Linked DNA regions of Homo sapiens: all the other regions are linked to region 1. Evidence: promoter capture Hi-C in 16 types of primary human blood cells and fetal thymus (Javierre and others, 2016). All regions are on one chromosome and are shown on one strand. Each heading gives the region's core, a stretch centred on a gene start or on the middle of the fragment in contact. The rest is flanking DNA. Distances are from core to core; before and after follow the strand shown.

What was found. The method cuts DNA at HindIII sites, captures the fragments that hold promoters and counts their contacts. A CHiCAGO score of 5 or more calls a contact.
Region 2: a contact is called between a fragment that was not itself captured here and the fragment with the promoter of CXCL12 in region 1, in 1 of 17 cell types (megakaryocytes). The highest score is 5.3, in megakaryocytes.
Region 3: the fragment with the promoter of ZNF32-AS1 here is called in contact with the fragment with the promoter of CXCL12 in region 1 in 6 of 17 cell types (erythroblasts, megakaryocytes, fetal thymus and 3 more); the score reaches 8.5 in erythroblasts.
Region 4: a contact is called between a fragment that was not itself captured here and the fragment with the promoter of CXCL12 in region 1, in 11 of 17 cell types (naive CD8 T cells, total CD4 T cells, monocytes and 8 more). The highest score is 9.3, in naive CD8 T cells.
Region 5: a contact is called between a fragment that was not itself captured here and the fragment with the promoter of CXCL12 in region 1, in 3 of 17 cell types (M1 macrophages, neutrophils and erythroblasts). The highest score is 5.9, in M1 macrophages.
Region 6: a contact is called between a fragment that was not itself captured here and the fragment with the promoter of CXCL12 in region 1, in 1 of 17 cell types (M1 macrophages). The highest score is 5.6, in M1 macrophages.
Region 7: a contact is called between the fragment with the promoter of DEPP1 here and the fragment with the promoter of CXCL12 in region 1, in 1 of 17 cell types (M0 macrophages). The highest score is 5.3, in M0 macrophages.

What each region holds. Positions count from the first base shown.
Region 1 is chr10:44,383,341-44,387,713 of GRCh38, reverse strand. It overlaps CXCL12 (C-X-C motif chemokine ligand 12), which reads left to right and starts at 2,617. Exons shown (of 3, transcript NM_199168.4): 1 at 2,617-2,769. The coding sequence starts at 2,709. RefSeq lists a silencer at 879-1,088 and enhancers at 2,982-3,673, 3,674-4,367, 4,368-4,373. The HindIII fragment of the contact is 14,357 bases long and covers 1-4,373 here.
Region 2 is chr10:43,613,745-43,618,117 of GRCh38, reverse strand. It overlaps ZNF485 (zinc finger protein 485), which reads right to left. Exons shown (of 5, transcript NM_145312.4): 5 at 214-1,827. The coding sequence ends at 749. Among named protein-coding and RNA genes, the nearest start is that of ZNF485, 9.5 kb to the right of the region's middle. The HindIII fragment of the contact is 2,517 bases long and covers 825-3,341 here.
Region 3 is chr10:43,642,009-43,646,381 of GRCh38, reverse strand. It overlaps ZNF32-AS1 (ZNF32 antisense RNA 1), which reads right to left and starts at 2,510. Exons shown (of 2, transcript NR_047557.1): 1 at 2,275-2,510; 2 at 1,335-1,532. It overlaps ZNF32 (zinc finger protein 32), which reads left to right. Exons shown (of 3, transcript NM_006973.3): 2 at 180-318; 3 at 1,581-2,520. The coding sequence starts at 249. The coding sequence ends at 2,332. All of the region lies in intron 1 of ZNF32-AS3 (ZNF32 antisense RNA 3), which reads right to left. It overlaps ZNF32-AS2 (ZNF32 antisense RNA 2), which reads right to left and starts at 440. Exons shown (of 3, transcript NR_047558.1): 1 at 85-440. RefSeq lists an enhancer at 1-746. The HindIII fragment of the contact is 1,613 bases long and covers 2,271-3,883 here.
Region 4 is chr10:43,709,190-43,713,562 of GRCh38, reverse strand. No RefSeq gene overlaps it. Among named protein-coding and RNA genes, the nearest start is that of ZNF32, 62 kb to the right of the region's middle. The HindIII fragment of the contact is 2,008 bases long and covers 906-2,913 here.
Region 5 is chr10:43,728,882-43,733,254 of GRCh38, reverse strand. It overlaps the pseudogene SPRING1P1 and the pseudogene UQCRHP3. Among named protein-coding and RNA genes, the nearest start is that of LINC02658, 48 kb to the left of the region's middle. The HindIII fragment of the contact is 2,381 bases long and covers 1,451-3,831 here.
Region 6 is chr10:43,752,865-43,757,237 of GRCh38, reverse strand. No RefSeq gene overlaps it. Among named protein-coding and RNA genes, the nearest start is that of LINC02658, 24 kb to the left of the region's middle. RefSeq lists an enhancer at 2,778-3,489. The HindIII fragment of the contact is 1,177 bases long and covers 1,510-2,686 here.
Region 7 is chr10:44,975,800-44,980,172 of GRCh38, reverse strand. DEPP1 (DEPP autophagy regulator 1) reads left to right here and starts at 1,364. Exons shown (of 2, transcript NM_007021.4): 1 at 1,364-1,555; 2 at 2,118-4,045. The coding sequence starts at 2,143. The coding sequence ends at 2,781. The region is part of intron 3 of RASSF4 (Ras association domain family member 4); the gene reads right to left. RefSeq lists enhancers at 1-468, 1,098-1,392, 3,984-4,373. The HindIII fragment of the contact is 406 bases long and covers 1,074-1,479 here.

The DNA.
Region 1 (4,373 bases), core at 1,368-3,867:
ATTTATTTATTTTTGAGACGGAGTCTCGCTTTGTCACCCAGGCTGGAGTGCAGTGGCGCCATCTCGGCTCACTGCAAGCTCCGCCTCCCGGGTTCACGCCATTTTCCTGCCTCAGCCTCCCGAGTAGCTGGGACTACAGGCGCCCGCCACCACGGCCGGCTAATTTTTTTGTATTTTTAGTAGAGACGGGGTTTCACCGTGTTAGCCAGGATGGTCTCGAACTCCTGACCTCGTGATCCGCCCGCCTCGGCCTTCCAAAGTGCTGGGATTACAGGCATGAGCCACCGTGCCCGGCCAGGGTTTTAAATTTCAATCGCCAATTGTAAAATTGTGAGGCTTGTACCTAAAATATGGATCCTTGGCCACCCTATTTAAAATCCTAACTCCCACCCCACTTTCCTCTGCTCCATCTTCCCCTAGCATTTAATGGCCTTCTAAGTATTTTATGCGTAATTACTTATGCTTAGCGCCATGTGCTTCTAAACGTTTAGTGCCTTTTCTAAACTACTTCAAACATGTAGCCCAGGTCTAGCACATAGTGGGTGCTCAGTAAGTATTTAACGAACGACTAGCGGAAGGGATGGCCCCATGGGTGCCACAGTAGCTTCTGTTCTGGGGCCTCAGGGCGCCTGCGGGAGGGGCAGCGGCCAGGCCTGAATCCCTGGTTCGCCCTCGACTCAGCCCACGCGGGCCTTTCAGGCTTCTGGGACAGATCCTAGGTCCAGCTGCCCACCTGATTTTGTGGCAAAGAAAAAAAGAAGAAGAAGAAGCGAGAGGCGATGGCGTTTGCTTTGGCCAGATTTAAGGGCAAGCGAGGCTGCGCGCGGCTCCCGCAGGGTCGGATCTCCGAGCTCCAGGGCGCCCCTCCACCCGGGTGTAGATTTCCCGCGGACCCCTTCGCCCTCCCGGGTTTCATCAGCTGCGCAGGAATGGAGCTGGCCAGAGCTCTGGGAGCGGGGAGGGAGGCGCCGCCACCAGAGGGCGCCGGAGCCCCAGCGCTGCGGCCGGTGAGCGGCCAGGCTCCCCGGCCCAGCCCAGCAAAGGCCTGGGGACGCCCGACGGCTGCCTTCTTCACTGGACCTCACTGCCTTCAGTTCTTTAAGAGCAGGGCCAAGTCAGTGGGGTTCCCGGCTCCAAGCCCAGTGCCCAGGGTGGGTGGGTGGGTGGGTGGGTGGGTGGATGGATGGATGGATGGATGGATGGAGTGCCGGCCCACAGCCATCTAACGGCCAAAGTGGTTTTGGAAAAAAAATGCACAGAAGACACCTACTCCCACCAGCGGAGTTCCGGAGCCCTCGCAGCCTCCTGTTGACCGCTCCCGCCTAATGCAGCCGCTGACCGCCCACTCCCCGACGGCCAGGACTCCCCAGGGACAGGGACGTGTCCCCAGGGCAGGCCCCTGGATGGACGCGGCGACTGACCCCACTTCGCTGGACGCTGTGCTGGGAAGGACACAGAGAGGTGGCTGGGGCAGCCTGCGGTCACAAAGCGAGGCCCAAAGGGGCGCTCTCCTCACCCCCACGTCTCCTGGGTGCCGACCTGCACCCTCCCTTCGCCACCGGACTGGGGCCATCTGGGATGTCTCGGGGGTATCCGGAGGGCTAAGCACCGCCGAGGGACGGCTCCGTGGGAAGAGTTTTCTGGACCCAGAAGGCAGACGCCAGTAGTACTGTCCTAGGAGTCGGAGGTCGGGGTGGGGGAGTTCTCAGCTCTTTGGGTCGCACGGAGCTTTTCTTGGGTAAGGCAGTAAGTACTTAGGTTTAAAGGACTTACTTACAGCTACCATTTATTGAGTACTGTCTGCTTGTCAGACACGATGCAGAGAATTTCGCGGCGTGGGGCGGGTCTCATTGAATCTCCCGTCCCACTCCGCGGGGTGGGCCTGTGATTAGCTCATTTCACCATTGAGAGGTCGGAAGTACAAAGGCTACATTCGCTTTTACTGAGAGCCGCCGGCGCCTTCTGCTTTGTTTGTACAGGCGAGGAAACTGAGGCTCGGCTGGTGGCGCCGTGGGCTTGGAGTCCGAGCCACGCTGACTGCAAAGACGGGTCTCATTCCCGCAGATCGAGCTCTGCCGGCGGCTGCGCCGCAAGCCGGGCAGGTGGCGAGCTTGAGCCCCCACGCACAGAAAGCAGGACCCCCTCGGCTGCCTTGGGCCGCCACCGCCAGCAGGCCCTCCGCCCGGGACTAACTTGTTTGCTTTTCATTGGTTCTCATTCAGTTCCCGCCATCGAAAGGCCCCGTCCCGCAGCTTTCCACGCGCGCCCCACTTTACGCCTAAGGTCCTCAGTCTCTCCAGTGGGGCCCTGTCACAGGGACAATAAGCGGCCCTCCAGCCGGCGTCGCTCAGGCTGCGGACCTCACTGCAGACCGGGCCAGCGGTGCGGGGCCCAGCGGAGCCTGAGAAGGTCAAAGGCCGGAGCGCACTGCGCCTCGGGAGCACAGAGGGAGCGGAGGAGGGGCGAAGGGGATGGGTGGGGGGTGCCGCCGAGGGAGTCGCGCGTCAGAGACCCCGGCCACGGCCAGCACTCGGCTCCGGGCCCGCCCCTCACCGCGCGCCCCGCCCCGCCCCGCCTGGCTCTCCCCTCTAAAGCGCCCGGCGCGCGCCTCCCACCGCCGCACTTTCACTCTCCGTCAGCCGCATTGCCCGCTCGGCGTCCGGCCCCCGACCCGCGCTCGTCCGCCCGCCCGCCCGCCCGCCCGCGCCATGAACGCCAAGGTCGTGGTCGTGCTGGTCCTCGTGCTGACCGCGCTCTGCCTCAGCGACGGTAAGTGCGCTCGGCGGGGAGGCCCTGGCGAGGCTCTGGGCTTCGGCTCCCGCCCGGCGCAGAGCCGCGGCTCCTCTGCCTGCGCCCGCAGTTTGCGCCGCCCGACACAGTGGGGGTGGAGGCAGCTCGCTTAGCTGGGCGCTCTGGTGCGGTGTCGCGTTCAAAGCCCTACTTTTGCGCCGAGGGTTTGTGACCTGCAGAGAGCGACCGCCTGACCTCAAGCTGGCTGCAGAGCGAGGTCAGCCGGGACAACTGGGCAGGAACGCCCCAAGAGAGCGTTCGGGACTGGCGCGGGAAGGCGCGAGGGTGGGGAGCCGCGGACCCCAGACCCCTGCCTGCCCACCCTCCACCCACTGCCTTCCCGCTGCGGGCTCGGTTTCCACAGGCGAATGGGCTCCGAGGTCCTGCTGCGCACAGTGCTGGAGGTCGGGCGGTGCATGGCGAGAGCGCGCTTTGCAAAGTTCGCCTCATGCCGCGACTTGAGGCTGTGAGGTCCGATGCAGCCGCGCAGCCTCCGCTCCCTGCGAAGCCGATCCTCTCCCCACACCCTCGCGGGGCTCTTGGCCAGGCGCGGGCGGGCTGCGCGGCGCAGCTGTCGGGCTTGTGCCACCCGCCAGGCCGCGCTTCTGCACAGCTCCGCGGTCCGCAGCGACGCGGACCTGGGCGCGCGTCCAGCCGCTGTCTTCCTGTCTCTTCTCGGGTTCACCTGAGAGAGGCCCAGGGACCCTCCGAGCCTCACACGCCCCCTCCCCAGCTCCCCAAACACACCTGCAGACAGGCTCTTTTGTCACCAGCTGGCCAAGCGCTTTGCCCCAGAATGAGAGCTGCAGCAAAGTTCAATCTCCAAGGCCCTGGGCCACTGGGAACCGTGGTGTCCCGTTTCACTGGGAGAGGGCTTTTTTCTTTTCTTTCGCTGAAGAGAAACTCGCTGCGCTGTCACAGGACACCGATGCAAACCAAAATAAACTGTTGCCTCTGAACACACAAAACAAAACCCTGTGGCTCAGGCCGCTGAGCTTCCTTGGCTGTGAAGTTTCCTGCAAAGAGTTGAAGGACACTCTGAGTGCTCTTGCAGCCGCGGGCTGTGCAGGCCCAGCGCGCCTCGAGCCCTTGGCTGGGTTGGTGCAGACGTGGCCCCGGCGTCCTAGCTGGCTTGGACTGTGCGCTGGTGTGAGCAGGACCAGCGCAGCTGAGTCGGGCTGGAGAAGCTGGGCAGCCTGGGGTCGTGGCGGACTGCCTAAGTGTTAAGGACACAGACTGAAGGCAATTGGGAATGTTCGTCGTTGATGAAAAGTCCCTGAGGCTGTGTCTGCACACTGACCCCCCCCCCCCCCCGCAAGTCATGGGGCATGTTTCTAGTTTTTATTGCTGGATATTCTTCTGTTCCTGTAAGGTCTCTGGTTTGGGCAGTTATTGACTGATTGGTGGGATGAGCGCGGAGGTGTCACAGTGCGCCGCTCTGGGAAATGGTGCTGCCCCCTCCCCGGAGGGCTGGAGAGAGGATTGGAATGAGGAACCTCGGTCTTTGAGTTATGGGTGCAACTGACCTGGGGGAAGCACAGAGACGTGGGGTTCATCCCAGACTCCTCCTGGCCTGGGAAGGG
Region 2 (4,373 bases), core at 834-3,333, 770 kb after region 1:
ATACTACATCCTCATCAAAGATAACTGCTGTTAGCTGAGTGTGGTGGTACGTGCCTGTAGCCCCAGCTACTCCAGAGACTGAAGTGGGAAGGTTGTTCAAGCCCAAGTTCAAAACTACAGTGAGCTATGATCACATGGCACTCCAGCCTGGGTGACAGAGTAAGAGCTAGTTTCTTTTAAAAAAAAAAAAAAAGAGAGAGAGAGAGAGATAACTGCTGTTAAGATTGGTCTTTATTTGTCCAGGTCTTTTTGAATGCATATAATATAGATTTCCTGAAACTTGCTTCTTTAACAAGGGTATATTGGGTATATTATCATGGGTATATTTCTACTGTTGTATTTTTTTACTTAGAGATGGAGTCTTGCTATGTTGCCCAGGCTGGAGTGCAGTGGCTATTCACATGCACAATCATAGTGCATTACAGACTCAAACTCCTGGGCTTAAGCAATCCTGTCTCAGCCTCCCAAGTAACTGGGACTACAGGCATATGCCACCATGCCTGGCTTTGTACAGTATTTACAGCTCCACCTCATTCTTTTCAATTAGCACACAGTATGCTATAACTACTTCCATACTGACATACATTTAGTTTCTTCAAATATTTCACTAGTAGAACCTCACAATGAATATCCTCACAAGTGATGTGTTCTCTCAGAAGTACAGAGTATTTCTGTTAAATGCATAATTTATTTAATGTCTCCTCTATGATGGTCAGAAGGAATAAACTACTCTGCACAATTTGCCACACTAACTACATTTCATGGCTCTTTCTTTATTATGAATTTTCTTATGTTGCTTAAGGGCTGAACTTCGGGGAAAAGCTTTCCCACATTCATTACATTTATAAGGTTTTTCCCCAGTATGGAGTCTCTGATGTTCAACAAGGCCTGAGCTGTGCCGAAAGGCTTTCCCACATTTCTTACAGTGATAGGGTTTTTCTCCAGTATGAATTCTCTGATGTCCAGTAAGGGTTGAGCTCTTTGTAAAGGCCTTCCCACAGTCACGACACTGATACGGTTTATTTCCACTGTGAGTTTTCTGATGACCAGCAAAGGATGAGCTATACCTGAAAGATTTTCCACATTTACTGCAGTGATAGGGTTTCTCCCCAGTATGCATTCTTTGGTGACTAATAAGAGTTGAGCTCTTCCTAAAGGCTTTTCCACATTCATTACACTGATATGGCTTCTCACCAGTATGGATTTTCTGATGTTCCAACACAGTTGAATTATCCCTGAAAGCTCTCCCACACTTGTTACATTTAAAAGGCTTCTCTCCACTATGTATTCTTTCATGACGAGTAAGAGCTGCATTCTGAGCGAAGGCTTTCCCACAGTCATTACATTTGTAGGGTTTCTGGCCAGTATGAATTCTCTGATGACTTAAAAGGATTGAGTTCTTTCTGAAAGTTTTTCCACATTCAATGCATTTGTGGGGTTTCTCCCTAGAATGAATTCTCTGATGGTTGATAAACGTTGAGTGCTTCTTCAGGAACTTCCCACATTCAATACATCTATAAGGCTGTTTGCCTGCATGAACCTTATGGTGATTTAAAAGGGATGAACTGTTCATAAAGGCGATCCCACATTCTTTACATTTATGTGGTTTCTCACTGGTGTGATTTCTCTGGTGGCTAATAAAGGACGAATTGTATTTGAAGACTTTCCCACATTCCTTGCACTTATAGTTCTTCTCTGTGGAGCTTCTGCCCTCCCAGTCCAGGCCTTTTTCCATCATGACACTTTTCGTTCGCTCTCCCAGAACAGATGCTTCAGAAGTGCTTTGCTTTAGGGCTGACATCTTTGTTTCAAACCAGTAATCCTCGACTGAAAGAAAATTTTAAAAATTCAAATGTTCTTTATGTTGAAATGCTGAAAGTGAGAGTTGTGCAAGGACTTGAATAATGTTCTATTCTACATAACTAAAGGTTATGAAAAATTATTAATGTGTCCCACTTGTGATTCTTGCTGAGAAAAGATGGCCAGACTAAGGGCAGGAAAAGGAAGTATGATTTTAAAGAAAAGAAAAGAATCTGTACTATAAACATTGCATTTAAAGAATGCAGTGAGCCCCTAAGAAGTTGCCAAGTTAGGAAGACAACACAGGAAACAGCTAAAAAAGAAAAAAGACAATGTGAGAATAAATACAAAATTGAGGAGAAAGCCCAGAGTCACAAAGCAAGCTATAATTACTACTAGGGCAGATTTCTGCAGGTGGTATATTTGAGAACATTATGATGTCACCAAGAACTTGAGAAAAATAGTTCTCTGTGAGGATTTAAGAGTGAACCAATATTTAATTGCTCAGTGGAAAAAAGAAAACAGAAAAAATATTCAAGGAACAAAAATAGTTCTCAGGCCAATAAGATTTTACTATAAACTAAATTTTTAACATATCTAAAAAACAACATACCTATGCCAGGCACGGTGGCTCATGCCTGTAATCCCAGCACTTTGGGAGGCCGAGACGGGTGGATTACTTGAGGTCAGGAGTTCGAGCCCAGCCTGGCCAACATGGCAAAACCCTGTCTCTACTAAAAATGCAAAAACTAGCCAGGCATGGTAGCACATGCCTTTAATCCCAGCTACTCGGGAGGCTGAGGCAGGAGAATCGCTTGAACCCGGGAGGCAGAAGTTGCAGTGAGCTGAGATCATGCCACTGCACTCCAGCCTAGGTGACAGAGCAAGACTCTGTCTCAAAAAACAAAAAAAAAATTACCAATCAATGGGTGTACTATGTGAATTTTCTCTAGCTTTTTACAAAGTACAGACACAAGACCTAAGACAGACAGAGCGAAATGATTCAGACAAAAACGTTCTGAAAAACTAATAGAGCCAAACTTGTAGTAAAATTAACAATCACCAACCAATTATTTTACTAAATGCGCTTTTCTTATAAACATAAGTTGTATCTATCTATACCTAAAGATATATACACATACATATATTTATATGTATTTATACTTAGTAGTCTGGGGAGAAATTCCATGCAATGGATATTAGAGCTAAGACTTATTTTTTCAAGGAAATGTAAGTTGAAGGTGAAGCCCAGTCAGAAACAGCCCACATTCTTCCAATGGCCTTTGATGGGATATGTGTTTAATGTATTATGATCAAACTAGAGAAAATTTCAAGATACTGATTGTAAAGCTGGCAACGTGAAGACACATATGGGCACTTCTTCTATGACAAAGGTGGTCTTGCAAAGCAGTGAGGAAGAGGAGATTCTGCATTAGTACATTTTAGGAGAAAAAAAATATATAAACCCTAACTCATATGATGCACAGAAATCCATTCTAAGAGGATGGTAAATGTAAACATAAAAACCAAATAATAAAGCTTCTAGAAATTAACACAGAAGAATATCTTCATGATCTCGGGAAAAGAAAAAATATTAAAATCACAAAAATAATAAATGTTAGTAAATAATTGTTAATATATAATTTAAAATAAACATTTTAAATAAAGCATGACACAAAAAAGCACTGACAAAAAAGAAAGGGATTGATCAAATGGAAGAACTGGGCTGGGCACGGTGGCTCATGCCTGTAATCCCAGCACTTTGGGAGGCTGAGGCAGGAGGATGGCTTGAGGCCAGGAGGTCCAGACCCACCACCTGGGCAACATAGCAAGTCTCCATCTCTACAGAAAAAAAACATGTTTTGAATTAGCTGAGCATGGTGGCATGTGTCTGTAGTCCCAGCTACTCAGGAAGCTGAGACAGGATTGCTTGAGCCCAGAAAAAGGAAGAACTGCTATTCATCAAGACCATTAACAGTCAGTAACAACAGAGAGAGGGATGGTACAATACATGTAATCAATAACAGGCTCTTCAAATAGTTACCCAATCAGAGATGCTCTATAGGGACCAATAAATATTCTAAAAGGTCTTTTTTTTTTTTTTGATACGGAGTCTCACTCTGTCGCCCAGGCTGAGTGCAATGGCGCAATCTCAGCTCACTGCAACCTCCACCTCCCAGGTTCGAGTGATTCTCCTGTCTTAGCTCCCCGAGTAGCTGGGACTACAGGTGTGTGCCACCACACCCAGCTAATTTTTTGTATTTTTAGTAGAGACAGGGCTTCACCATGTTGGCCAGGCTGGTCTCGAACTCCTGACCTCAGGTGATCCGCCCACCTCAGCCTCCCAAAGTGCTGGGATTACAGGCGTGAGCCACCATGCCCAGCCCTAAAATGTCTTTAACCTCATTAGATATAGAGACATGGATATGAAAACCACAATGAGGCACACAGAACATCCACCAGAATGACTAACTTCACAAGATTGACCACAGGAAGTGCTAGCCAGGACATGGAACAAGGAGTGCTCTCACACACTGATGAAGGAGTATAACTGGGAACAAAACTCTGGAAGA
Region 3 (4,373 bases), core at 1,261-3,760, 740 kb after region 1:
TGTGTGTGGTCCTGGTACCTTTGGGCCCATTTTGCAGTGATATTTTAGTAACTGACATTATGTCAAACAATCTAGGTTTCTTACATTCACTTATGTCTCAACAACTGTTGACTTTTTCCTTCTCACATATCAATTATTCTGCCCTTTCCTGTTTGTTTCTGTTTGTTTTTCTCCCTCAGGTGCTCAGGAACAGCCCATGGAAGAATCATATGAAGAGGTGGTGACTGAGGTCGTAAGCAGGAGTGGACATGTTTGGATTTCCAACAGCTACCCTGCTGGACTGTCATGGAAGATATGCCCAGAATGTAGCGTTCTTCAGTGAGTGAGTCAGTTGATGGCTGGATGCGCTCAGCTCACAGATATTCAGTGTCCCTGTTCTCAGCACTGGTCGGCAGTCTGAGGAAGCAGAGGAGACCTTGCTTTGGTAGAGCTTGCTGTTCCTAGGGTTATAAGAAAAGCCTGTGAGCTGGAGTTAGAAGTAATAGTAGAAACAGAGCAAGAGAACCATCTTGATATGGAGGTAGCGTTGAAGTAGTCTCTGAGAATGAATGAGCAGCTTAAATCTCAGCACTGTCTCTGAATAAGGCAAGGGAACAAGGAGAAGATTACCCTGGAGTGACAGACACCAAGAAAACTGTTAATGGTGATGAATGGACCCATATTTAAAGTGCACCAGGAGGCTCAGATGCAGGGCAGTATTCGGAAAAAAAAAAGTCAATATCTGCATAGAGAATAACTTCCAAACCAAAATTGATTTCAGTTTTGCCATAGCTTAGTAGACTGAAAATAGCAAGGATTTTAATGGGAAAAATTCCTTGGATCAGATTCTATAATTGCCATGGCTAGATCTGCAGTATCAGACAGGTTATTTAACTTCCTTAAGCTCCAGGTTCGTCTGTAAAATAGGACAATAAGTTCTATCTTGTAGGGTTGCAGGGATTAGCAATGATAGATGTAAAGTACCCAGGATTGTGCTACATATTTTCTGAGGTCATGGTGCTTATTCTATTGTCAGAACAGATTGGACAGAGGTGGATTTCTGAAGAAGCAAATGCAGCTTCAGTTTTAGGACCCCTCACTTGGATTGGTCTCTCCAAGACCCTGTGCTTAATTTTATACATTTTCTTAAAAGGGTGCCTCTAAAATGGGAAAGTTTTAGGCCTTATATAGCCTGGATCCACACCTGTTTTGGAGTCAGATAAAAGTTGGGTATGGGGCTCTGTGTGATTCTGTATAGTTTTCTAAATTTTCTGAGCCTGTTTTCTGACCTGTAAAATAGAGAAAACCATGTCTATCTTACAAGGTTATTTGTTGGCCTAAATTAAATTTAGAGGCAGTACACTGCTATGGAGAATGCCTATTTGAGTCAGCTCTAACTTACCTAGCTCTGTGACCTTTGACAGGCTCCCTTTGCTCCCATTATCTGTATCACTCTCATGGCATTGTTTTCAGGATTGCATTGTCTATGCAAAGAATAAGGCCTGGCACATCATAAGCACTCAAAGTATTATGTTTCTTTTTCCCTATTCTAACTCAGCATTATTGGTGCTTCTTATATGACTTCCCTCTCATTTTATCAGATGTGATGACTGAAGCCCACCACAAATATGACCACTCTGAGGCTACAGGATCCTCAAGCTGGGATATCCAAAATTCTTTCAGAAGAGAGAAGCTGGAACAAAAATCCCCAGATTCGAAGACACTACAGGAAGATTCACCTGGAGTGAGACAAAGGGTCTATGAGTGCCAGGAGTGTGGAAAATCCTTCCGGCAAAAAGGTAGTCTAACGTTACATGAGAGAATCCACACTGGTCAAAAGCCTTTTGAGTGCACCCACTGTGGAAAAAGCTTCAGGGCCAAAGGCAATCTTGTTACACATCAACGGATACACACGGGAGAGAAGCCTTATCAGTGCAAGGAGTGTGGGAAAAGCTTCAGTCAACGAGGTAGTCTCGCTGTCCACGAGAGACTCCACACTGGACAGAAACCCTACGAGTGTGCTATTTGTCAGAGAAGCTTCAGGAATCAGAGTAACCTTGCTGTTCACAGGAGAGTTCACAGTGGTGAGAAGCCCTATAGATGTGATCAGTGTGGAAAAGCCTTCAGTCAGAAAGGAAGCTTAATTGTTCACATCAGAGTCCACACAGGCCTGAAGCCCTATGCCTGTACCCAGTGCAGGAAGAGTTTCCACACCAGGGGGAATTGTATTCTGCATGGCAAAATCCACACAGGAGAGACACCCTATCTGTGCGGCCAGTGTGGAAAAAGCTTCACCCAGAGAGGGAGTCTGGCTGTGCACCAGCGAAGCTGCTCACAGAGGCTCACCCTTTGACCACTTTCCTGAAGAGAAGTTCTCTTTATGAATTAAGAGTACAAAATCCTCTGAGATGAAGCAACCTATCCAGTTCTATGGAATGAATGGAGAATCTTTCAGAAAGACCATCATTGGGTAGGGCAAACTGATTTTTTTCCTTTCCCCCAAAAGAGTATGAAAAATAAATGTCTTGTTTATTATCATTATCATGTATGTTTTATAATTTCTGTCACTTTATTCTGACCTGATTTTTCAAGGTACCCCCATTAATCTGGTGCCACACTAGAGATTGTTCTGTGTATACCCAATACAGATTTTAAATTTGTAGTTGACACCATCAGGCTTTTATAAATGTAAAAAATCAGCCCCTCATCAATCCCAAGTTATTTTTCTTCCTTACATATTCAAATTAATCTTGTTTTGCCTTCAAAACCACTGGGCAAAATCCATGGGGCAAATCTAGTTACCTTTATAATCTTCTTGTTGAACATTTCATTACCTGGATGATACCCCCAATAACCTATTGTAACTAATCACTCATGTCTATAGCAAGGGGCCTAGCCTTTTATTACAAAAGAAAATTTCTTTCCAAGCCTGCACAGCCTTAGTTTGTGCATTGAGACATACTTCAGTCCTCCACTCCTAACTAGGATAGAGATAATTCACCTGTAACCAAAGAGCAAACAACTACTGTCTGTGCAATTTTTAAAAATCTTTAACCCATTTCTCCCCATCTACTAAAGGGACTCCTACATTTTCAGAGACCTTCACTCCCTCTTTGGTAACAGCAGCAATATCTTGGGGTTGGGTTATCTAGAAAGGATATAAGTGTTATTACTGAACCCAGACTTGTAGTTTGTAGTCAATAATGAACTTCCACTTTCCAACAATACTATCCTCTTCCTCCTGCACACACACCAAGAAATTTGGAATTCTAACCCATCCTTTTTTCTGACCTCCAGGGGATGAGATTTGAAGAAGGCTGCAGAGGAGAAATTGGTTTTGAGGGGAAATTTCCATTTCCATTTTTTAAAATCTTAGCCATCTCTATAATTTTTCATACTGAGCATTTATGTAAGTGAAATGATGAATGATAGAGATTTTGGTTTTCTTGGTAAGACACCATTCCATCCTTTCTAGTGGATCCTATAAATCAGTGGTCCCCAACCTTTTTGGCACCAGGGACCAGTTTCATAAAGACAATTTTCCCACAGAGGGGGATGATTTTGGGATGATCCAAGCACATTACATTTATTGTGCACTTTATTATTATTACATTGAAGTATATAATGAAACAATTATAAGGTACTCACCATAAGGTAGAATCAGTGGGAGTCCTGAGCTTGTTTTCCTGCTACTAGACAGTCCCATCTAGGGGTGATGGGAGACAGTGACAGATCATAAGGCATTAAATTCTCATAAGGAGTGCACAACCTAGATCCGTTGCATGCACAGTTCACAATGGGGTTCACACTCTTATGAGAATCTAATGCTGCCACTATCTGACAGGAGGCAGAGCTCAGGTAGTAATGTGAGCAGCAGGCAGCAGCTGTAAATACAGATGAAGCTTCGCTTGCTCTCCCACCACTCACCTCCTGCTGTGTGCCCCAGTTCCTAACAGGCCACAGACTGGTACTGATCCATGGCCCAGGGTTGGGAACCCCCTGCTATAAATTATTGCTTCCTTAATCCCAAAAAGCTTGTAATAGTAAATCTTTACCATGTAGAGAGGTAAATTTCAAAGGTCTTTGAGCACTGAAACAATTTGGAAACACTGGATTCTAATAATACAAAAATATTCCAAAGATACCACAATAACATTTGAAGCTGTATACAAGAATGTTCATGTCATCTTCATTTATAATAGCCACACACTTAGAAATGTCCAACAATGGGTGAGGGATAAAGAAACTGTAGTATATCCATACAGTGAAATACAACTCAGCAATAAAAAAGAACATACACGTGGTACATCAACAATATGGATGAATCTGAAAGTTTTATTTGAGTTGAAGAAGCCAAATACACAAATAGTATAATTCCACTTATGTGCCTTCAC
Region 4 (4,373 bases), core at 660-3,159, 670 kb after region 1:
GACCCAAAGAGTAGAATTTAGAGGGACTCTGAGATCAGCTCAACACAAAGAGTGTTCTGACGTTCACTTGTCCAACAGATCCGTACCAAGCACCTCTGTGTGCCAGGCACTGGAGAGGCAGTGGGAGCGGAACAGAAGGTCCTGCCTGGGGATGGCCAGCTGGACTGCCCCACCAAGGGCCACTGCCCATCACTTCAGGAAGAACCTGGATACCTGTCTCAGGAGAGTGCCATGCAGCGAGTTCCAGATTTACAGGCAGGTGAGCTGGGTCCAATCTGAGGCTCCTGTGAACCCAATGGATAGTGGATGATAGTGTTTGTGCTTCTTAGGTACTCACAGCTCCACTCTCAAAAGAGGGAAAACATCTTTCACCTCGCCCTTTGCTCAGCCACTTAAATTTACATAGAGACCTATAGTGTTTATGACAGAAATGATCGTTGGAAAGACAGTAACAAGCCATATTGCATCGGGTTCCCCAGTCCTGCACCAAGAAGGGCACACCAGCTCCAGACACTCCTGCCAGAAGTGTGTGACCTCATCATGAGAAAACTACAGACCCACCCAGACTGAGACATTCTGCCTAGTAACTGGCAGCATCCTTCTAAGTCTCGAGGGCATGAAAGAAAAGGGGCAAAATGAGGACTGTTACAGACTGGAGAAGACTGAGGAGACATGAGGGCTGTGTGCAAGGTGGGATCCTGGAAGAGAAACAGGATCACAGCGTGAAAAGCGCTGGAATCTGATAAAGGCTGCCATTCACTCAATGATACTGCACTGTTCATCTCTTAGTTTTCATTATCGTGCTAAGGGGGGTCTCTAAAATGTACATACTGTATTGGTGAAAACTCTCTGTACTTTATTTGCAATTTTCCTGTAACTCTAAAATTATTTCTAAATAAAAAGCTTTGTAAAAACTCCCACCCCTGGCCTGGCTTGTACCTGTAATCCCAGCTCTTTGGGAGGCCAAGGCAGGAGAATTGCTTGAGCCTAGGAGTTTGCAGCCAGCCTGGGCAACTTGGCAAAACCCCGTCTCTACAGAAAATACAAAAATTATCTGGGTATGGTGATGCACACCTGTAGTCCCAGCTACGCAGGAGGCTGAGGTAGGAAGACTGATCGAGCCTAGGACACAGAGGTTAATGAGCCGAGATCGTGCCACTGCACTCCAGTCTGAGCAACAGAGCAAGGCCCTGTCTCAAAATAAAGAAAAAAAGAAAAGAAAAATTAAAATCCCCACCCTGAGCCCAGCCCCAGGGGCCCCAACCATCAGGCCAAATGTCTGCATTAAGGTCCACAGTGCTTGTCTGCAGGGCACAAAATGGCCTCTGCACAACCCTTGTCACTTGGAAGGTGTGTGCGTGGCTGTGTATCAGCTGATGCTCCCTGGGTCTCTCTGCTCGTCTGTCTGCTCCCCACTTAAGCTGAAATCCCACCCCATGCTTCCCCCTTCAGTGCTGCCTGCACACATCCCCCCAGCAACCCTCCTCTGCATGGGCATGGGTGGGAACCATGTATCTTGTGACCTAGGCTCCAGAGGATACTGAGGAAATGTGAATCCACTTAGATTTTTAAAGGGCTGGGAGGAGAGAGGCATCGGTATTGCCAGAGTGACCTTTCCCCAAGGCCAACCTGACCGAGCCCTGTTGGTTCCAGTGCCTCTACCCTGCCCACCTCTTGGCATAGCACACAAATGCCTGGTATGACGTCTACATCCTCGTCCAGCCTGGCCCTGGACCTGGTGTCTCTGGGCCGGTAATTCTCCTGGCCAGATAACAAGCATTGTGCCACCTGTGGACCCAATCGCCCTGAGACCTCAGGCCCCTCCCTCGCTCACTTGCCTCCTGGCTGCGCCTCCTCTAGTGGTCTTGCCACCTTCACCCCTGAGTGCCACCTCTAGTGAGCTGGTTAAACCACTGAGATTCCTGCCCACAGGAAGATGCACCTGCTTCCCTAATTCTTTCCTTCTCTCTCAGCCACAGCTGAGAGTGCCCAAAGAGAAGTCCTGCCTAATCACTTCCAGGCTGGGGGATAAAGGGCAACTTATTCTGGATCCAATGATGCTTATAAATCCATGGAGCAGCCAACAGCATTATCAACAGAGAGGCTGCACATCCTGTCCGCAATGGCTATACATAACTTAATTTTACATACAAAACTGTAATTCAAAACTGTTGAGTCAGGAGCCATTTCAGTCATTCTCAACTCTTAAGAGCTTGTTTCTTTCCACCCCCTATCCCTTTAGCCTCCCACTCCAACTAAGTGTTTTCTTCCCAGAACTCATTAAATCCTCTTCCACTTTCATTTATTTTCTCATTTTCCCCCACAGCCCTTCTCGCTGGTTTTAATATTTTTGTTTTCTTTTCACCACCCACTATGCAGCCTCTCTATGATGGCAAGCACTGTTCTTTCCAGAATTCCTAGCTCTTGTCCCCACTTTCGCTTCTCCCCTGTTTCCCCCTGGCTCTCCTGCCCTGATGGCATCATTTGTTGACTTCGGAGGTGTTTACCCTTTTAATCTTCTGAAGTTTGGAAAGGGGATTGCACATTTCCCTCCATGTGTTTTGCGAGAAGACCACATTTGGTGGCAGCTCAGGCACTGCTGAGCGGCCTTTTTGCGATTCAGTTGATCTGTTTGCCTGCTCCTTGGGTTGTTTAGTAAGGCCTCTGCCAGCATGCTTTAGAAAGGGCTGCATGGCTGTCCTGCCACCTACCCCTGGTCCACACTGGGCTCATGGGAAGGCAGCTCAGAGTCTCATCCCTCTCCCCTCCCAAGCACCCCTCCCTTCCAAGCCACATCTGCATTCTGTGAGCCCCATGCAAGATCCAGCTCCATCTGGCTCGTCCCTGTTTGATAACAACTATTTCCCCCATAGACCAATCAGTCTTTCTGTGTAGATGTGGCACTTTCAAGCTTCCATGACAACTTGAACGTGTAGACTTTTATCTTCAAAAATGGTCTTAGGAACCTTCTGCCATATACTATGTCCCCTAGATACAGAGTAATGGGGTCTGCGGTTGCACCTGCTGCAGTGCTGTGTGTAGAAGAGGTACTGCTATTCATGCCCTGCAGACCCCCTCTGGTGCCACATCATGATGCACCTGCCCTCTCCTGTGTGAACAGATACAGACTGAGCATGCAGCCAAGAGTCAGAAGAAAGACCTGGTGCTAGTCCCACATCCTTGTACTTACCGGCGTAGTCCCATATCCTAGTATTTACCGGGCTAGTCACATATCCTTATACTTACCAGGCTAGTCCCACATCCTTATACTTACCGGGCTAGTCCCACATCCTAGTACTTACCAGGCTAGACCCACATCCTAGTACTTACCGGGCTAGTCCCACATCCTAGCATTTACCAGGCTAGTCCCACATCCTAGTACTTACTAGGCTAGTCCCATATCCTTGTACTTACTGGGCTAGTCCCACATCCTTGTACTTACCGGCGTAGTCCCATATCCTAGTACTTACCGGGCTAGTCACATATCCTTATACTTACCGGGCTAGTCCCACATCCTTATACTTACCGGGCTAGTCCCACATCCTAGTACTTACCAGGCTAGACCCACATCCTAGTACTTACCGGGCTAGTCACATATCCTAGCATTTACCAGGCTAGTCCCACATCCTAGTACTTACTAGGCTAGTCCCATATCCTTGTACTTACTGGGCTAGTCCCACATCCTTGTACTTACCGGCGTAGTCCCATATCCTAGTACTTACCGGGCTAGTCACATATCCTTATACTTACCGGGCTAGTCCCACATCCTTATACTTACCGGGCTAGTCCCACATCCTAGTACTTACCAGGCTAGACCCACATCCTAGTACTTACCGGGCTAGTCACATATCCTTATACTTACCAGTCTAGTCCCACATCCTTATACTTACCGGGCTAGTCCCACATCCTAGTACTTACCAGGCTAGACCCACATCCTAGTACTTACCGGGCTAGTCCCACATCCTAGCATTTACCAGGCTAGTCCCACATCCTAGTACTTACCAGGCTAGACCCACATCCTAGTACTTACCGGGCTAGTCACATATCCTTATACTTACCAGGCTAGTCCCACATCCTTATACTTACCAGGCTAGTCCCACATCCTTATACTTACCGGGCTAGTCCCACATCCTAGTACTTACCAGGCTAGACCCACATCCTAGTACTTACCGGGCTAGTCCCACATCCTAGCATTTACCAGGCTAGTCCCACATCCTAGTACTTACCAGGCTAGACCCACATCCTAGTACTTACCGGGCTAGTCCCACATCCTAGTACTTACCAGGCTAGACCCACATCCTAGTACTTACCGGGCTAGTCCCACATCCTAGTACTTACCAGGCTAGACCCACATCCTAGTACTTACCGGGCTA
Region 5 (4,373 bases), core at 1,392-3,891, 650 kb after region 1:
GGATGGCTGGGTCAAATGGTATTTCTAGTTCTAGATCCCTGAGGAATCACCACACCGACTTCCACAATGGTTGACCTAGTTTACAGTCCCACCAACAGTGTAAAAGTGTTCCTATTTCTCCACATCCTCTCCAGCACCAAATGTCCAACAGTGATAGACTGGATTAAGAAAATGTGGCACATATACACCATGGAATACTATGCAGCCATAAAAAATGATGAGTTCATGTCCTTTGTAGGGACATGGATGAAGCTGGAAACCATCATTCTCAGCAAACTATCGCAAGGACAAAAAACCAAACACTGCATGTTCTCACTCATAGGTGGGAATTGAACAATGAGAACACATGGACACAGGAAGGGGAACATCACACACCGGGGACTGTTGTGGGGTGGGGGGAGGGGGGAGGGATAGCACTGGGAGAAACACCTAATGCTAAATGATGAGTTGATGGGTGCAGCACACCAACGTGGCACATGTATACATATGTAACAAACCTGCATGTTGTGCACATGTACCCTAAAACTTAAAGTATAATGACAATTTTAAAAAAGAAAAAAAAAAGAAACAAATGGCATATTCAAAACCATAAAGAAATATCCTGATGCCCAGGTGATGAAGGCTGGGGTGAATAAGTCCTCACATTTATTTCAAGTTGTTAAGGAGTTTGTGGGCAAAGCAATGGTCCCTTGCATGCAAGAAGTCAAAGAGCTCCTCTTGCAATCCTCTTCTGTATGTGATCGAGAGGATAACACGCTTGTCACAGAGCTCTAGCTGCTTCCAGGCCTTTACACATTTCTCCAACTGCTCACATTGCTATCTCACGGTTGTTAGGGGATTCACTCATTCCTCCTCTTCCTCTTCCTCCTCCTTAGGATCTCAGGACCTGCTCAGCATCTTTTGCTCATCCTCCAGTCCCATGTCTGGCTACGGTTCCAGAGTCAATATGAGCAGCAACAGCGGCACCTAATTGACTTCAGGATCAAAAAGGACTTGAATATTTTGTTTTGTTTTTTATTTCTCTGTTTTCTTTTACTTGCTTTGCTGTGGGTTACTTGAACTTTCAGAATTCTATTTTGCTTTATACTGTTTTTGAATGTGCAGCTCTTTGAGTAGCTTTTGTGTATATGGCTGCTGTAGTATTATACCATATATACAAAATATCACACTCTAATGATGTCATTATTTCATCAGTTCAAGTGAAGTATAAGCATCTATTTTTTATAAGTCAATTTACCCCCCTCCATTTATAATTGTCTTGAGTTGTTTATGTTCACCCTGCATAGGATGAATCCCTTCCAAAATTTGATTTAGATGTCAAGACTAATGATACTATATTGACCCCAAGAGAAAATGGAACGGTTCGTGACTCACATAATGAGGCTTTCTGAAAAGAGCACCGCGGCTCACAAGCAGTGCCAAAAATGGCTTGAGAGAGCAGAGAAAAGCTTGGGGTATTTATGGTTGTTAGCGAGTAGGGCCTCAGTGTAGGTTCCTACATGTGGTAAACCTCCCCTGGCTGAAGGAGGGAGAACCCAGGCTTTCTTATCAGTTTGCCCAGATGTGAAGCAGAAACAGAAGGAGGAAGGATGAGGCTTCAAAGCTGTCAACCATCAAACATCAAAAAACTGGATCAAGCTCTGTTACATCATTATTTCATCTACAAACATGTAAAGTTTGTCTCTCCATCTTTTATGTTAAATAGATATTTTCTAATGTACCATTTTAATTCCCTTGTTTCCTTAAGATTGTTTTTGAGTTATTTTTCTTAGTGATTGCTATGGGGATTATACTTCATTCTAACAATCTAGTCCAAGTTAATATCAACTTAATTTTAATGGTATATAAAAACTTTTGCTTCTATATAGCTCCATTCTCTTCATTTCTTTCTTTGTGCAATTGTCATCATAGAAATTACATCTTTTTGTACACCCATTAACACTGTGTTATAATTATTACTTTATTGCATTGACTTTTAAATCAAAAATGAGAAAAAAAAGAAAAAACATTATACCATATTTTATATTTACCTATGAGGTGCTTGTATTTCTTCGTGTGGATTTGACCTACTACCTAGTGTCCTTTCATTTTATCCTGAAGGACTCCCTTTAGCATTGTGGGGGGGCAGGTCTACTAATGACAAACTTCATCTCTTAAATTTACCTGAGAACGTCTTAATTTCATCTCTGTTTTTGAAGAATGATTTTGCTGTATATAAAATTTTTGGTTGACATACTTTTTTCCCCCACATCAGAGTTTGATTTAGTACTGTTGCGAACACACAGAATCTGAAAAAAATCCAATGCAAACAGAATAGATTTCTTGGGATCTAATATTTTTTAATTGCCTGACAACCTACCCTCTAAGAAAATCTATTTAAGGGGGGCAAATTATTTTCGAAAGATGAGTATAAGAGGCAGTTGGAGGAAGGTAAGGAAAATTACCACTACATATTGCAGAAACATACTGGAAGGCAAATATAGCCCAAAGAAAAACCTCCACTGAAAAAAAAATGTTGAATGCTGACCATAGATCTAGCACCCTGCTCCCAGGTCAATAATTTGAACCAAAAAAATTTAAAAGACCTTGCTCAATCCTGAAGTTAGTGAAGGAATATAGGAGGGCTGTGTGTTAATGTTACACATGAAATCAAAGAGCACTGCTATTCAAGGGGCATAATGTCTTGATCTTAGGATCAAATACTCTAGGCCTTGAGCTGAAGAGTCTGCATTGCAGTAGAAAAATGGGAAGTGCTTTATGCACATGGATTCAGGACATACCAGCAACCTACCTGTGCAGCATTGTCTAAGCCATAATGATCTTCCTCATCTCCCACTGGAGGTAGATGTAAGAATCTCTGGCTGGGCGCAGTGGCTCACACCTGTAATCCCAGTACTTTGGGAGGTCGAGGTGGGCAGATCGCGACGTCAGGAGATCAAGACAATCCTGGACAACATGGTGAAATCCCGTCTCTACTAAAAATAAAAAAATTAGCTGGGTGTGGTGGTGCACGCCTGTAATCCCAGCTACTCAGGAGGCTGAGGCAGAAAAATCGCTTGAAACAGGAAGTCAGAGGTTGCTGTGAGCCGAGATCGTGCCACTGCACTCTAGCTTAGAAAAAAGAAGAAACCTTCCAGTCTGTAAGAAGAAATCTCTTACAGAACTTTGATAGAAAGTTGGGTCTTCCCCCTCGCCTGTCTTCTTCTTCTTCTTCTTCTTCTTCTTCTTCTTCTTCTTCTTCTTCTTCTTCTTCTTCTTCTTCTTCTTCTTCTTCTTCTTCCTTCTTCTTCTTCTTCTTCTTCTTCCTCTTCTCCTTCTCCTTCTTCTTCTTCTTCCCCTTCTTCTTCATCTTCTTCTTCTTCTCTTCTCTTTTCTTCTTCTTCTTCCTCCTCCCCTTCTTCTCCTTCTCCTTCTTCTTCTTCTTCTTCCTTCTCCCCTTCTTCTCCTTCTCCTTCTTCTTCTTCCTCTTCTTCCTCATAAGGAAACCAAACATTTATACTTGTTACACCCCCTGAAGCTGAAAGCAATAAAGAATGAACACATACAGCAAGTTGCTAGGTGCATCTCTGTTTAGGAATTGCCTTAACATTGGGTTTCTATTGACAGAACCAGGGAGGAGGTTGCCTCAGACCTTCCTGAAGCTCCATTGTCCCCTGGCTGAGCAGACCACAGCTAATTTTAAGTGGCAAAAGAAATGCAAACAAATTCCTCCAGGATGAGAAGTGTGATTTCGGGCTAAAACGGTGCTCTCACACGGGGTATATGAGCACATTCAACCACCACTAGAATAGAACCTGAGGGTGCGCACTTGGTGCCAACTGCTGGAAAGCTTTCAGTTAGATAAGAATGGAAGAATGCCTGAGTTTTTAGATAATTTTAGACATTGGGATATGGTTAACAGGTTGTGTTCAGGGCCTACTCTTGATATTGTCTAAATAAAAACAAAAATAACTGCCTAAAGAGAACATCTACATCCTAAATGACAAAACATATTATCTGGGTGAAAGGATGATTTAACTCGTGAAACTCAAGAACACAAGAACAACAACTATAATCGTTTCCTTGAACACGGTCGCTAGAAGGGCAAAGCATTTTTCTACATAAAACATTACAATTTTCCCACTACTCCAAAGGAATCCAATAAATAATTGTACAGTGAAAGGGCCTGGATCAAAACTGGAAGTGACACCGGCTCCCGACGAACACAAGTCACAGGTCCCTGTGCAGATCCCAGGTTTGAGTCGTCCAAGAACGCACCACCCCCACCGGCCTGTGGTTTCATCTTTCCCCAATGGGAATGGCCAGAGGGTCCAAGCTGCTTTACAGAAGACTGTTCCATCTGGTAAGCCCGGTGCTGAGCTAAGCCAAGATGA
Region 6 (4,373 bases), core at 849-3,348, 630 kb after region 1:
CCTCCTCTTGTAAAACAAAGGTAGCTAGTGTTCCTCCCATTTTTTGTGAGGATTAAATGAATTAATAAAAATCAAGTTGTTTGCAATAGCAAAGACTTGGAACCAACCCAAATGTCCATCAATGATAGACTGGTATAAGAAAATGTAGCACATATACACCATGGAATACTGTGCAACCATAAAAAAGGATGAGTTGATGTCCTTTGCAGGGACATGGATGAAGCTGGAAACCATCAGTCTCAAAAAACTATCACAAAGACAGAAAACCAAACACCGCATGTTCTCACTGATAGGTGGGAATTGAACAATGAAAACACTTGGACCCAGGGTGGGGAACATCACACACTGCCTGTCGGGGGTTGGGGGGCTGGGGGAGGGATAGCATTAGGACAAATACCTAATGTAAATGACGAGTTGATGGGTGCAGCAAACCAACATGGCACATGTATACCTATGTATCAAACCTGCACGTTGTGCCCTTGTACCCTAGAACTTAAAGTATAATTTAAAAAAAAAAAAAAAAGAAAAATCAAGTGCTTTGAAGAGTGTCTGGCACATATGAAGTGCTGCACAATTGCTATTACTCTTTTCATTATGTTTATTACTACTGTTACTCCCCAATGCCAGCAGATATCAAGATAGCAATGTTCTAGATACATTCAGAATTCAAGAATCACAAACACTGGCAGATTGCCTGCCGTCCGAGATAATATTTCTCCCTTGGAAAAGAAAAAGAAAAATGTAGTCTATGTAGCAAAGATTATCTAGCAAATATTATAACATGATGAATCCTTTATTAGTGTTTATAGGGGAAAAAGAAAGAAAATCATTTTCCAAACAGTAGAATTTCGAACTAAGAACAATTAGGTCTGAACATTCCTCATGGCTCAGAAGTGACAGACCACCCTGGTGGCATCCTCCTTCGACAGGCCACAGGCTGAGCATCCAAACCATGCAGTCAGCAGTTCAGTGGCAAGGGAGCCTCTGCCTTCAACACAAATAAAATCCATGAAAATGAGGAGTGAGGGGGAGAGCCTGCTGCCTAACACTCTACATCCTGATGCCTCTGAATACAGGAATTGCACAGATGAGAAGAGAAGAAAGAAAGACACAGCGTGTATCTCACTGTCACTGGGCAGGGACCAGGTTGGGGAGGACAGAGTGGAAAAAGTCTGATCATTTCTGCAAAATGGTGTCTATGTTTGTCCGCTGTGCTAGTTACAGTCCTTTCCCTGTGGTTATTTCTTAAAAGATGGAACTAAAAGGCCAATACTTAGAAAAAAACTTAAAAGGATTTAAAAATCACAGGCAGAAGTTCAGATGACACACCACATTCAGACTGATGGTGAGGAAACCTTTCCCGATAGAGACCTCGGTCTCTTTAGAACTTCACATCTCAGAATAATGAGGAGCAAAACTCTAAGTAAAGCAAATCATTTTTGCAATTACATAGACTTTGCCAGAACAACTGTGAGGAAACTGAATCAGTAATATTAGACTCTGAAAGCTTTTTTCCCTCCACCAACTACCACGGACAATTTTATACAGGACAAGAATTTCCAGCCAAAATAACCAAATATTTTCTTTACCACCTGGCATGCTGCTTCTTCCAGCTTGTGTGGTACATTGCTAGAAGTTTCTCTGCAGAATAAAATTACCCTCTGGGAGCTGGGTACATGGGTTGGTGGTTAGAGCTACTCTGGACCTAGTTTGGTCACTTGGCAGGGAAAGCATCAGTAAACAGACTGAGTGAGGAACCATGGGTAAGCCATGTTTTCAGGAAGCAGACAGTCTGTGAGGTAGGAGATTTAAAAGAAGAAAAAGAAACTGTATTGTGGGCGGCTTCTATTCTTCCTGGGCTAAGAAGTAGTAAAGGAGTAGTGGCCAAAAAATAAAAACTGTGCTATCAAAAAGAGAGAAGAAAAAGAGAGATACCAACAACCAGTAGAAAAGTGAGCAAAACCGCATGGACGGTTCAGAGAAGCAAAAGTGCAGATGCTTTCAAATATGGGAACAGATTTCAATCTCACTCTTAAAAGAAAGGCAGTGGTATTTTTCACTTAACAAGTTGGCAAAATTCAAAAGCTGTGATGGCAAACTGTGTGAGTGATGGTGCGGAGAGATCAACACTCTCCTAGCTATTATTGCAAGTGGGAGTGCAGGTTTACAAGCTCAGGGGAGAGCAGGCTGGCAAAGCACTCAGCACCAGAAGTGTTTGACTCAAGGACACCACTTCTACAAAGTGAGAAACTGAGTATTTTTTTAAATAAGTCTCAAAACAATCTAAATGTTCACAATAGGGGACTGAATAAATTATGGTGTGATCATACAGTAGAATATTATACAAGTTCGTAAAGAAGGAGGCCTGTACGATTTGGAAGGTTCTGCAAGGTACAGGGTCAAGTTCAAAAGGAAAGGAAGGGCCACAAAAGTACCTTGTTGTGCTACCACTTGCATATGAAAGCTCCTCTGAACAAATGCAGATGTGCTGCCGAGGTAGCGGACACCTCTGGAAGCTGGCAGCAAGGGCTGCCTGGAGGGAGAGGAAAATAGTGAAGCAAGAGATACCCAAACCCATTAAAAAGTGTGCTGTATGTCTGGTGTCTATGTAGATGCGTGCACATAAATAGAAGAAATATTGAGCGTTCCCACAGGCGTGAGCTGTGTTCTGTCTGTACTGTAAGCTTATGGGTGACTTGTATCTTCTTCCTTGTAGTATTTTTTGAGTTTGTAAATATTTCACAGCGAAATTAGATGCTTTAAAACAAGGATTGTTTTCCTTCTAAAATTCTCAATTATCTCCACCAAACAAAATACCTGGGCCAGGCACAGTGGCTCACGCCTGTAATCCCAGCACTTTGGGAGGCTGAGGTGGGCCGATCACCTGAGGTCAGGAGTTCAAGACCAACTTGGCCAACATAGTGAAACCCCATCTCTACTAAAAATCCAAAAAAAATTAGTCAGGCATGGTGATGGGCGCCTGTAATCCCAGCTACTCCGGAGGCTGAGGCAGGAGAATCGCTTGAATCCAGGAGGCAGGGGTTGCAGTGATCCAAGCTCGTGCCACTGCACTCCAGCCTGGTGGCATAGCAAGACTCCATCTCAAAAAAAAAAAAAAAACCTGCTCAGTTAATTCAGTCAAAACAAGCCTTTTGATTGTGGCACACTCGAGTTGCACAGTGGGATTGGAGCCGGAATCCCCATCTCCACCCTCGGAGGACAGTCAGGGCTCACCACCCACCCACCTGGGGAGCCTGGCGCCCAGCAGCCCCACACTCCCTGTGTTCCGCCAGGCCCCATGGAGGCTGCAGAGGCAGGGCGGGATATTTGGGGACAGAGTTCCACTTATTGTCTCTCTCAGGTAAAGCCTTCCCAAACGGTGCTGCTATCGGAATTGAAGACTTGGAGCTATTTTGGTTGCATTCTTGGCCCTGAGAGACAGGTTTCCTGTTAATACTGTTTTGACCGAGATTGTTTGGGCCTCTCCAGCGGGAGACCAGATTTAGATCAAACGCACAGGATCCTCCTGCTGCAACAAGAAGGGCCTGGGACACCCAGGGAAGTCCAAGCCCCCGCTGTTAGAGGGTGGGAAACGGGACTGGGGTGCTTTCTCTGCTGCCCCAGGAGGCCCTGGTGGAGAAAGGCCCGCCCGCCCGGAGCCACACAAAGCCCAGGAGGCTGGGCCGGCAGTGTGGAGGTCAAAGCATCCCGGGCCCCATGTGGAAGGTGAGTCCCCCCTCTGGGGCCCAGGGCCCGGCTGAGGAGGCTCACACAGTCATACTCAGAGTGCCAGCCCTCACACAGGACTGTTTAGGGCCTGCCACTGGTCAGCCACCATTTGGAGTTGCTGCCGGGAACATGGAACCAAGGAGACCTTGGGAGGCAGGGTCTGTCCTGGCCTCTCAGACTAACCTGGCAGATGCCCTCACACAGGCAGGAAGAGATGCTGATGGGAGGCTTGAACGTCCCAGTGTTCCCACGGACACTTCATTCTCAAAGGGAAAGAAGAAAAGGGAAGGCCTGCCTGCCCAATTCGGGTGTACAGAGAGGGACCGCAATGTATGCAGCACAGTAGAGACAGCTCTCTGGAGATGACTGTCGGGTGCACCATGCCCAGGCTGGGGAGACCTCTGAAGCAGGCAGGAGGGTACTATCTGGTAACCACAGTCCCTGGGGTAGTTGAGTGGCCAGGTCCTAAGCAGAACCTACTCTTTATTCCATATTTGCATTCCATGTTCCCTTTGCAAGGCTGGGGAAGTGGCTCCAGCATCTGAATTAGGGCCTTGACCTTTTCACAGGAGCCAGTAATGACTGCAGTGAAACCTTCAATAGAGCCTGCCCATAACCTGCTGAAGTGTGGCTTTTGGAAGAGC
Region 7 (4,373 bases), core at 115-2,614, 590 kb before region 1:
TGGGACTGCCGGTCCCTCTTGCTTGCCTAGGGAGTCTGGGGTCTGCCCAGTACTCAGAGCTCAGGCTTGGGCTAACTCTCAAGACTCCTCTTTCTCCCCCACCTGCAGCACAGGCAGGCGTGTTCCAGGTGGGGCTGTGGCTGGGGCAGAGGATCTGTGGCCTGTCTGGGGAGTGCAGGAGCTTCCCAGGGGCTGCCTCTCTCATCCTTGGCAGCCTCCTTTGCTGGCATGGTCACTCCTGGACAGATGCAGTGGCTTTCTAATGTTGCCCAGGTGCTCCTTGGCAGCCCCCCAGCCCCAGCCCCAGCCCAGTCCCAGCAGCTGCAGCGATCCTTTGAAGCAGAAGCCAGACTGCAGTGCCCTTGTTCAAACCCTGCAGTCTTTCCCTCCCTCCTAGAGGGAAACACAGCATCCACCCCAAGGTCCACTGACCCCCTCCTACATGGGCCAGTCTGCAGGCCCCTTGCTGTGCCCTGAGCATGTCTGTCCGGCGCGCCCTCACCACAGGGGCTTTGCACGTGCTGCCCCTGCCACCTGGAATGTGCATTTTCCCATTTTTTTCAGGTTTCTGCTCCAATATCTGCTCTTAGGGAAGACACCCCTGACCACTGTACCTGTGGCGGCAGCCCACCACAGCATGCCACTGCGCTGCTTTCCTTCAGGCAGTTCTTGCTGTTGCCTGAATCACAGCACCCATTCATCTCTGGCTTGATCTCCTCCCTTACTAGAATATGAGCTCCAGGGGGCCACACCTTTGTCCGCTGCTACGTTTGCTGTGCTTAGTGCATTCACAGCACACACTAGCACCTCATATCTGGTGAACAAGTAAACAAACAAATCCTCCGAAAGCACCCCATCTGGGGTGTAAGAAGACCAGGGTCAGACCCCGCAGACCGCCCTTGGTCCCTTGCGAGCAGGGTGTGTCTCTCCTAGGAGCAGGCCTAGGGACCCAGCCTCAGCTGCCTCCAGACTGGGGTCCTGTGCTGCTGATTTTTCATCAAAGTTGCCAAGGACCTGGCCCAACTTCACAGGAGTCATGATGGGGTGGTGTAACACAGAGTGGGAAACAAGCTTTGGGGCAGGGGTGGCCCTGGGGCTACCTGTGAGGGCCCAGTGGAACCCCTCCCTCTCCCAGTGCCCCTACTTGACCAGCAGTGAACCCACCCCTTTCCTGCCCTGCAGCGTAAACATTCCCCAGCCTCCTACAGGCAGAAAAACACCTCCAAGCTGGCAGCTGGGCCAGGCCCCGCCCACCAAGCTGTTTTCCTAAGACAGCCTTCCGAGCAGGCTATTTTTGGCCCTCGTGACAGTGATTGATAGCTGCTGGGAAGGTATAAAAGCAGCTTGCCTGCGAAGGTTCTTCACACTGCTCAGGGAAGAGCCTGCTACGGTGGACTGTGAGACTCAGTGCACTGTCCTCCTCCCAGCGACCCCACGCTGGACCCCCTGCCGGACCCTCCACCCTTCGGCCCCCAAGCTTCCCAGGGGCTTCCTTTGGACTGGACTGTCCCTGCTCATCCATTCTCCTGCCACCCCCAGACCTCCTCAGCTCCAGGTAAGAGAGAGCAGCTGCCCTTGGGTTTGAGACAAAACACAAGGGCTTTGTTTATTTTTGAGGGCAATTCCCAGCCTGAACTTGCACAGCCTCCCTATGGGTTAGAGACCAGGGCTGTCTGTAGAGGGCTTTGCATTTATAAAGGGATTCAGGGGTTATTTCATGCATTTCCTACAACATCCCGGCCAGGGGTATTTATAACCCTGTTTTATGGATGGGTAAGTGGAGGCCTGGAGAGGTGGCCTTGCCAAAGGTCCCATGGTCAGTGCGTGGCCGATCCTGGTTTTAAACCCAGCCTTCCTCTGACCAGTGTTTGTTAGGTTAGGTTCTCTTATCTGTGCACATTCTGAAACGATAATGATAAAATCTTAAGCCTTTGGGGTTTTTAACCTGAACAGGAAGAAAAGATCCCAGCAGTCGGAGCTCTGGTCTGGGCTCTGTAGACTTCAAATTGCTCTCAGGGCACCGGATTCCTACAGGCAGCCCCAGAGGAGTGTGGTGACGCTGAGGGGCGGTGGGACGCATGGCAGGCCCTCACCACCAGGCTTCTGTTTCCCAACAGGTTGCCACCTCCTCTCGCCAGAGTGATGAGGTCCCGGCTTCTGCTCTCCGTGGCCCATCTGCCCACAATTCGGGAGACCACGGAGGAGATGCTGCTTGGGGGTCCTGGACAGGAGCCCCCACCCTCTCCTAGCCTGGATGACTACGTGAGGTCTATATCTCGACTGGCACAGCCCACCTCTGTGCTGGACAAGGCCACGGCCCAGGGCCAACCCAGGCCACCCCACAGGCCAGCCCAGGCCTGCCGGAAGGGCCGCCCTGCTGTGTCCCTGCGAGACATCACCGCACGTTTCAGTGGCCAGCAGCCCACACTGCCCATGGCTGATACTGTGGACCCCCTGGACTGGCTTTTTGGGGAGTCCCAGGAAAAGCAGCCAAGCCAGAGGGACCTGCCAAGGAGGACTGGCCCCTCTGCTGGCCTCTGGGGTCCACATAGACAGATGGACAGCAGCAAGCCCATGGGGGCCCCCAGAGGGAGGCTCTGTGAAGCCAGGATGCCTGGGCATTCCCTGGCAAGACCACCGCAGGATGGGCAGCAGAGCTCTGACCTAAGAAGCTGGACTTTTGGGCAGTCTGCCCAAGCCATGGCCTCCCGCCACCGCCCCCGCCCCAGCAGTGTCCTCAGAACACTCTACTCGCACCTCCCGGTGATCCATGAACTCTGACCCCTCCCCAGTAAAGGCTTCTGTAGAGAGCATGCTGGGTCTGCATCTCCTCTCGTCTCCTCCATGGTGGTCACTGCCCCTGGCAGGTCTCTGAAAGGGAAATGCTTTTCTGCAGAGGCCCCTGCTTGGGCAGTTCACAGTGAGACCGACCCCCTCTGAATATGATAACAGCCTGTTTCACATGAGGAGATGTTACCAATCCCGTTCGCTCTGACCCTTGCTGGCTGATCACCTTGAGCAACTTACTTAACATCTGTGTTCCTCAGTTTCTCATGGGTAATATAGGGATAATTACTGGCACCTGCCTCCCAGGCCATTCTGACGTGTAACCGCATATAGGAGCCCACTGGCTGAGTAGCTACCATCATCGCTGGTGGGGAAACTGGTGGTAGGGGTGTGAGGGTAGTGGGGGTGTCAGCCCCCCAGGTGTTTCAGAACAAGGCCTCGGGCACTCCCAAGTCTGCCTCTTGGCTCCCACCCTCAAAGCCCATGTTCTGTGAGGCCCAAGAGAACACATGGAGTCTTAGCAAATGCACTAATGTATTCCGGGGGACTGTCACCTGGCACCACTGGGGCACTCTGCTGGCTACAACTCATACGTCCTGTGGTGGCATTGGGAGAGTTCCCCCATGATGAGGGCCAAGATAGAATCTGTACCACTCAGTGCTACCATCCCCACCCCTACACCACTTCCACACAGGGGCCTCATGGCATGGTCAGGGTCCCAGCTGTGGGTGAGAGCAGGGCACTGTCCAGCTGTCCACTGGGGAAGTCAAGATGTCCTAAGGCCCAGGTCAGGGCATCTGGAGTCTGAAGGACCCTAGTTCCTAGAGGCATCTGGCAGCAAGAAGGTGAGGCATCAGGGAACGGGAATCAGGCTGGGACTGATCAGAGGTGAAGGGACAGAGAGAGGAGAGGAGGAAGATTGAGCTGGGGGCAACAGCCAAGCTCACCTGGGCAGGTCTCTGCCACCTCCTTGCTCTGTGAGCTGTCAGTCTAGGTTATTCTCTTTTTTTGTGGCTATTTTTAATTGCTTTGGATTTGTTAAATGTTTTCTGTCTTCTGTTAAGTGTGTTTTCTCTGGAGATAGAATGTAAACCATATTAAAAGGAAAAAGTTTCAGACAAGCAATTACCCAGTTTCCTTATCTATAAAATGGGGACATCAGCAATGTTCTTCACACCCTGCAAGGGCTGGGAATCTGCGCATGTGAACTTGGAGCTGCATTTATGAGCACTGTAGACAAATGTTTGTATCTGTCACAGCCCACTGTGTCTCTGTGGTGGTCTCAAACCTGCAGGTCCCTGACTTTGGGCAAACGTGTGGGGCAGCCTTTAGCCGGGGCAGCCTTTAGCCAATCATCATCCTCGGGAGAGATCCAGAGGGCCCACCCACCAAGGCAGAGGGGTTGAGGTCCGGGCTTGCTGGGCCCAGCCTCACTACAGCCCCTTCTGCAAAGCATCATGAAACGGGGTCAGAGGGAGAGTCCGGCAACTAGGATGAGGTCAGCAGACTCCCCTATGCTCAGAAGCCACCTCGCTGCATCTGGGGAGGTCTGGCAGTTTGAGGAGACCATCCCCGGGCTTCCTCAC